Linked DNA regions of Homo sapiens: region 1 is linked to region 2. Evidence: promoter capture Hi-C in human tissues and cell types (Jung and others, 2019). All regions are on one chromosome and are shown on one strand. Each heading gives the region's core, a stretch centred on a gene start or on the middle of the fragment in contact. The rest is flanking DNA. Distances are from core to core; before and after follow the strand shown.

Evidence for each region. The method cuts DNA at HindIII sites, captures the fragments that hold promoters and counts their contacts. A contact is called where the count stands out against the background at its distance.
Region 1: the fragment with the promoter of KRT7 here is called in contact with the fragment with the promoter of KRT84 in region 2 in 1 of the 25 tissues and cell types used here (adrenal gland).

What each region holds. Positions count from the first base shown.
Region 1 is chr12:52,230,761-52,234,520 of GRCh38, reverse strand. It overlaps KRT7 (keratin 7), which reads right to left and starts at 1,278. Exons shown (of 9, transcript NM_005556.4): 1 at 901-1,278. The coding sequence starts at 1,224. It also overlaps the pseudogene TMT1AP1. RefSeq lists an enhancer at 1-692. The HindIII fragment of the contact is 11,918 bases long and covers 1-3,760 here.
Region 2 is chr12:52,384,196-52,388,111 of GRCh38, reverse strand. It overlaps KRT84 (keratin 84), which reads left to right and starts at 2,460. Exons shown (of 9, transcript NM_033045.4): 1 at 2,460-3,072. The coding sequence starts at 2,527. The HindIII fragment of the contact is 12,479 bases long and covers 1-3,916 here.

The DNA.
Region 1 (3,760 bases), core at 29-2,528, 150 kb after region 2:
CTATGAAATCTAAAAGACCGGTCTGGGTGAATGGCGAAGGAAAGGAGAACGTGAGGGAGGCGGGTGTGGGAGTACACTTCGTCTAAGCTGAGGAAGGGGGCCCTGGCCAGAACAGCCCAGCAGGGCCAGCCCTGAGTTCCTGGCTTTGGCAGCACTCCTCCCAAACCCACCAGTCAAGTCTGCCCTCGCCCCCTCCAGCGGCCCCATGTGTGGCGGAGGCCAACAGCCAGGAAAAATATCTCCAAAATGGACCCCTTTTTGAGGGCCCTCTCTGCCACTCCCTGCCCCCAACTGGGCTGTCTTCAAGGGCAGGTATAACCTCTCCTCCTGCCACCTAAGGGAGGCTGGAGGACCAGGCAGGTGGGGGAGGGGAGGGGCGGGAGCCCCCCCCCCTCCCCCGCCCCACCGACTGCCGCTCTAATCTCCAGCATCTGCATCCGCATCAGCATCTGAGAGAGCCTGGGTCTCCCCCTCTGGGAAGGGCGTGCCATCCAACTCCATTCCTGACTCCACACGGTCCTCTCTCAGGGAAAGGGTCCCAGAGAGAGAACTCCTGGCCTAGGCCTCTGGAACTCCTAGTCCGAGGCAAAACTGGTCCAGGTGACCAACAGGCAGCCAGCGAGGGCAGCCCTACAGGACTCAGGCCCGCACTCCGGGAGGAAAGGGAGGGGCAGCTGGGCAGCTTGCTGGAAGGGAGGGCTTGGAAACCGAGGGGATAAAATAGCCACGGGGTTCATGCGAAGGAGGAAGGACCCCCAGATCGTGTCCCCAACACTGGCGGAAAGACAGAAGGGCGGCAGTGCTCCCCAGCGCCTGGCCCGCGCGCAGGCAGGGCTAGTTAGGGCGGCTGGTGTGGTCTGGAGCGCGGCTCGAGGAGAGGCGAGGTCCAGTCCCGCTCACCTTGTCGATGAAGGAGGCAAACTTGTTGTTGAGGGTCTTGATCTGCTCGCTCTCCTCCTGGCGCACCCGCTGGAGGGAGGGGTCGGCGTCCAGCCGCAGCGGGGCCAGCAGGCTCTGGTTAATGGTGACCTCGCGGATGCCGGCGCCCACCGGGCCCCCATAGGCAGAGCGCACGGCCACGCGCGGCCGTGAGGCGCCGAGGCCGTAGAGGCTGCTGCTGCCAAGGCCGCCGGGGCGAGCGGAGCTCAGGCGCACCTGGGCGCCGCGGCCCGAGAAGGCGGCTGAGCGCGAGGTGAATACCGGGGAGCTGAAGTGGATGGACATGGTGGCTGGGCCGGGATGGACCTAGCGGCGGGCGAGGAGGAGCGCGCACTCGCTGACCTCGGGGACACTCCGCGCCTTTTATCCGCGGGAGCGGGCGGCTGGGCTTCCACAGGTAGGGGCGGGGCTGCCGCGGGCCACCTTTCTCTGCTGCCAGGCCCCTCCTGGGGCCGCCCTCCGCCCTCTGCCCGCCCGCCCCGCCGAAGCCCAGGCTTTCAGTCCAAGCAGGGATGGTCCGGAGTAGGCAGGAGCGCCATCCCTAGACGGCCGCAGAGAACAGCGGGGGACCGCAGTTCCAGCCCATTGGAAACGGACTCAGTGAGGGAAGGCTTCCCGGAGGAGGATGCTTGGAGAGGGAGTGAAGAACCTAGAGATCCCTGAGGCCCAAGCAGAGAGACCCAGTGGCAAGAGACTGGGGGAAGGGGTGGGCTGAAAAGTTCCAACCCAGGAGTCAACGCCCAGACGTCCCCATCCTCCAGGCTGCTGAAGCCAGAAAGGCATTCCTTACCGCTCTCCCTCACACCGATCCAGCTCCTCCTTGAGAGATCAGCTCACTTGTTCAGGGGTCTGACCCCTCCTGGCCCAGCTAGTTTCCCTGGCTGCGTTCCTTCCTACTTCATTTCCCATAGAAACTAGGCTGAGAGAGACACACGACCGACCGCACCTCTGGCTCCTCCCCTCCCCACTCCAGTAGGCATCGGAATCCCAGGGACCTTGGGAATGCTTACCCTGGACCCTCACCTCCCGGACCCTCCACTCATATTCCTGCCCATTTATTTTATGCGTCCCTGTACAGGAAGGGGACACTTGTGTGTATTTGTGACACTTTGTGGATGTGTGGACACTTTGTGGATGTGTGCACACGCCTGCAGGCCTCTGGGCTCTGCTGTGCTCACACCCCCAGGCATATGCACCCGCATGTCTGAGCCTGCTTACACAGATGGGGGTCTGTGCGTGCATCCTGGGCGAGGGGGCAGCTGTGGCTACACAATGGCACACATTTTCATGCCTGCCTGAGTGCGTGTGCTTCTGTTAGCACTCAACTCTCCTCCCGCTCCCTCCACCATTTTCCTGTTTAAAGGCCCTCAGCTTTCATCATCTTTCTCCCGTGAAGCCACCACCAAACAATTCCCAGCAGTTTCAAACCCAGTCAAGAGGGGTAATCCTAGTGCTGGAACCGAATACCGGACAAAGCCTGAGTGTTGGCCTCACTTCCCGGTAGGGCCAGCCATGCTTGCCACACCCTGTTCTCAGGCCTGGCTTCCGTCTGCCCTTAGCCCACCTCTAGCCCCTCCCAATAAGCTGGCCAGGTTCGTTACCTCAGACCTAAGCCCTTGGGGGAGACAAGGGTGGGGACGGAATGTCCTTCCTGCTTGGCCATTTCAGTTAAAGCACAAGGACTTCCAGTGAGGCTAAAGACTGTCACTCCTTCTCAGTGATCTTAGTGAAGGCTCACCAGCCTCCCTCCCTGCCTCCCCTCCTGACCCTAGCCATTGGTGTTGGGTCAGCTCAGGCCAGAGGCGGAGGGGTGCCCAAGGAGACCTGCTGTGGTATCGGCTGTGGAGCATGTATGTGTGCATAAGACCGAGAGAGATTCGACCTGGAATTGTGCCTGGTTGTAGCTTGAAGAGCATACGGATTACCTGGTCCTGTGATATTTGCATTCATAGGAATCTCACTGCCCTCCTTCCCCAACGCCCAAGCAGGCAAAAAAGACCAATTGTTTAATTTACACACACACACACTCCAACTTCCTCACCCCTCAGGGCTCATCTTCAACTCTGTTTTTACCACTGCCTCTCACACCAACGCCTGCTCTCCCATACCTCCACTAACAAGTTCTGCCTCTGGCCCTCTCATCCGTCCCCATCTCCAGCCCCCTACAGGATCTGCGCTCTGGAGGCTGTGCCCACCTAGACCAGGAGTTCCTGCATCCACTTCTCCCCTAAAGCCTGGCTGGGAAATCTTTGTCAGGGCACTGCTGTTGCCTTGAGGCCCTGGACATGTCACTGCCCCTCCCTGGGCCATGGATTTTTCACCCAAGATGAAATCTCCAGATTCCATACCTAGAGAGGACTGGGGAGGACAATGGGAAGGAGAAAAGGTCTCTGGGCTTTTCAGGCTCACATCTGGGGTTGTGGGTGGGGGCCACTTTGAGCAACATTTCTGCATTCCAGGGCCTGCCTGACATTCACCCCTTGGCCTCTCCTCCCCTCTCTGAAGCATTCCAGGCCGTTCCAGCCCTGGCCAGTCTCCTCCTGCCTCTCCATTCACAGGCCAGCACTAAGAGCCCACTCTGTGCCAGGTGGCACACGCAAACATCCTCTGGAGGGCTTCCCAAAGCGCTGCCAACCTGAGAGGCTGCAGATAAGATTCCTGCCCACAAGAGTTCACAGCTCACCCATCCATCCAGCCTCTGTCTCCACCCCACCCGGACTTTGTTGGCCTCACCAAGACCACCTTAGGAAATCCTGGGCAGAATCATGAGGCGAGTTATTCCCACAGTCTTTCCCCATTGGTCATCTGCCTGCCCCAAATG
Region 2 (3,916 bases), core at 1,211-3,710:
GCATGATCTGACATGTTTTTAAAGGATCACTCTGTGCTGCTAAGAAAAGCCTGAAGGGGCAAGGGAGGAAGCTGGGAGACCAGCTGGGAGTGTAGTTCAGAAGATCCTGTGGGAAGAGATGGGCCTGGGCCAGCATGGGAGCAGCAGGATGGTGAGAAGGAGTAGGAGTCTGGATATATTTTGAAGGGAGAATTTGCCAATGAATTGAATGTGGGAAAAGGGAAATAAAAAACAGAGGACAAAAGGATGACTCCAAGATTTCTGGCATGAACTATTGCAGAGATAGTGATGTTGGCAAGTGGAACATATTTAGCAGGAACAATTAGGAGAACAGTTTTGGTCATAAAGTCATCCCTCTGTATCTGTGGCTCCCACCTTTGTGGATTCAACCAACTGCAGATTGAAACTCTTAAAAAAATTGCATCTGTGCTGAACAAGTACGGACTTTTTTCTTGTCAATAAAGTATAACAACTATTTACATAGCATTTACATTGTATTAGGTATTATAATCCAGTGATGATTTCAAGTATACAGAAGGATGTGTGTGGGTTACATGCAAATACTACACCATTGTATATCGGAGGCTCGACGAACATCCATGGATTTTGGTATCCACAAGGGGTCCTGGAACCAACTACCTGGGGATACCAAGGGACAACTGTATTAAGTTTGAGATGCCTATCTGATATCCAAATAGAGATGTTGGTTAAAATATATGTGTGGCGTTTAGGGGTAGGGAGGTCTGGGATAGAGTTGTGCCTTGGCAGTCATGAATGAACAGATGGTATTTAAAGTCCTGAGTCTGTATAATATCACCAAGGCAATGAGTCTAAAGAAGAGAATAGATACCCAAGGATTGAGCCAGGGACTCTGCAGTGTCTAGAGGTTGGGGATATGAGGAGGAACTGGCTTAGAAGACTGAAAAGAGTGTGGCAAGAAATCGAGAGAGTGTAGTGTCCGAAAATCAAAAGAAGAGCGTGTTTCAAGAGAAAGGGCATGGTCAGCTATGTGAAGAAAGTGAGAACTGAGGACAGACCATTGAATTTAACATGGAGGCCACTGGTGGTCTTGACGAGAAGTATGCACTTCTTATTGTTTTTCTGCTTCATTTCCCCCTTAGACATACAGCTGATAGCTGGAAAAAGAAAATACCGCACAAATGAGCTGGATGCTTCTGGTCAAAAGCATACATCCCCTTCCAAGTGGAATTGCAAGCATCCCAAAGAATCTCAAGCGTCCAGTCAAACATGAGTTCCCCTGGGCAAAGGATGCACTAGAATAGAAAAGGTAAACACCAGCCTGGCTCAGGGTCCTAAAAGAGCTGCAATATTGCTAACAATGATAATATTCAGCTGCTGAGAACTTTTCCTTTTCTATCCAGATGTATATTGCTTTGTGTCTCTCTATCCTAACCAAAGATTCATCAATAATTCAAGGAACCTAAATGGACAGGCCCATAAATCACACCTATGGTATATTTGGGGGCTAAAAATCATGTAGTTAGCTTTCTATACAGAAACTTTCCAATGCTTTGGCCTCAAATCATGCCACAAAGTGTTGACTGCTGGAAATCCTCAAGATAAATGTTCTGCTGGGCATGGTGGTGGATGCCTGTAGTCCCAGCTATCTGGGAGGCGGAGGCGGGAGGATCACTTGAGCCCAGGAGTTCAAGACCAGCCTGGGCAACTAGATCATGTCTCTAAAAAAAAAAAAAAAATTTAAGATAAATCTTCCCCTACTACCATGAAGATAGAGACTGTCTTTGTAATCTCTGTACCCTCAGCAGCAAGCACACTGCTGGATACATAGCAGGCACTCTAAAACTGTAGAATGAATGAATATCTCTGAGTGTCTCAAATCACAGATGTGTCTACACTAGCCCAAATGAGCTTTACTGTAGATTCAACTCTTGTATACTAAACAGCCATATTGGATAAAACATGGCAGAAGGTTTTTTGATGATTTAATTGATTTGCAGAAATGCAACAAACTGTATTTTCTCCATATCACTTCTTACTTGGAGATGTGCACACACTCCCACCTCTTTAGGGGGTTATATCTTCATGGATGCATCCCATGTGAGCCTCTTGCTGGAGCTGTCGCCATCCTAACTTTCTGGTGGTTAGCCACACTCACAGTGAAAAAACCTATTGCATTTATGACCAAAGCAAATTAATGTCCCCTTAATGGCAATTGTGGTAGACTTATAGGGAAAAAAAAGACTATAATGTTTATATGTTTATGTGTTTTTAATGTTTATTGGTTTGCTGTTACAGCCCTCATCCCAATGAGACTAGGTGTGTCTGAGTTAACTCATTGTCAAGGAGGTTATAGGCATGCAGAGTTTCTGCTAACTACCCAAGCTCATAAATGCCTGCAAATGGATTTTTTCATTTTTATGGGGCCAAGCCTCAGATCACCACACACATAAAAGGGGTGCAAGGGTTCCACTGGCCTCAGAGGGACTCCCAGCTCCAGCTCACCCATTCTACACTTGCTCTTTTGCTCCCAACCAGGAAGCCATCATGTCTTGCCGCTCCTACCGAGTCAGCTCTGGTCACCGGGTGGGCAACTTCAGCTCTTGTTCAGCAATGACACCACAGAACCTGAATCGCTTCCGGGCCAACTCTGTCTCCTGTTGGAGTGGGCCTGGATTCCGGGGCCTTGGCAGCTTTGGTAGTCGGAGTGTCATCACCTTTGGATCGTACTCACCCCGGATAGCAGCTGTAGGCTCTCGGCCCATCCACTGTGGAGTCCGCTTTGGTGCTGGCTGTGGGATGGGTTTTGGTGATGGGAGAGGTGTTGGTCTGGGGCCTAGGGCTGACAGCTGTGTTGGTCTGGGCTTTGGAGCTGGCAGTGGCATTGGCTATGGCTTTGGTGGCCCTGGCTTTGGTTACAGAGTTGGAGGGGTTGGAGTCCCAGCAGCCCCATCTATCACAGCTGTGACTGTGAACAAGAGCCTACTGACCCCCCTCAACCTGGAGATTGACCCCAATGCCCAGAGGGTGAAGAAGGATGAGAAGGAGCAAATCAAGACCCTCAACAACAAGTTTGCCTCCTTCATTGACAAGGTACCTATGATAGCTGAATCTCTGGGTCTAGGAATATTACAGCCAAAATGCGCTAGAGTGCTCTTTCCCTTAAAAAGAACTGGCCCGGTTCTGGGGACTTGACCTTGACCTCAGATCTTTCAAGTGCCTACCTCAGGCATTGTGGTATGCTTTATGGGTTGCTCTGCTGCAGAGCAAGGCCAAGCCAGAGGACGAGCTGCATGGTGGGATAGATTCCGACAGTGTTGATATCTTCTGGAGGACAGAGGAGCATCCAGCCAAACTCGAGGGCATCTCGACAAACTAAGATGTTGCATCTGGTCACTTAGAAATGTCTCTGAAACAGGCTGGAAACACTGGGACTTTAGCCAGGTGTTGGCTGGTATATGCTTAAGAGGTTTTATTCTTTGAGATCCTTTTGTTCCTTATGAAGTTTTCATAGTTTCTGAGGCTGAGTGGCCTCATCTATTCAGGCTTAGAAAAGTAGAGAATGGAGTTGAGTAATTAAAAAAAGAAGAAGAATTCATACCCCCACATGGGGTATCAAAATTCGGCCAAGTTGCCTAGATTCAGGGAAATTGCAGGGAATGACCACTGGTAGTCACTGGCTTCCAGGCAGATGAGTGGGAACAGTGATGTGGATAACCCAAAAGAACTGACATCCCACACACCATGTCTATGTGGAGATGGAATGGTTATGTCTGAGAATGAAGGATAACCTCTGTAAGTTTTGGGTTCTTCCTCTCTAAAATGAGGGGCTGGGGTAAAGGGTCTGTAAGTTCTCTTCCAGCTCTACACATAGCCAATGGAATATCTGCGATGTTGGATAGGACTTACAATCTGAGAATTCCTACCTCCCAGTACC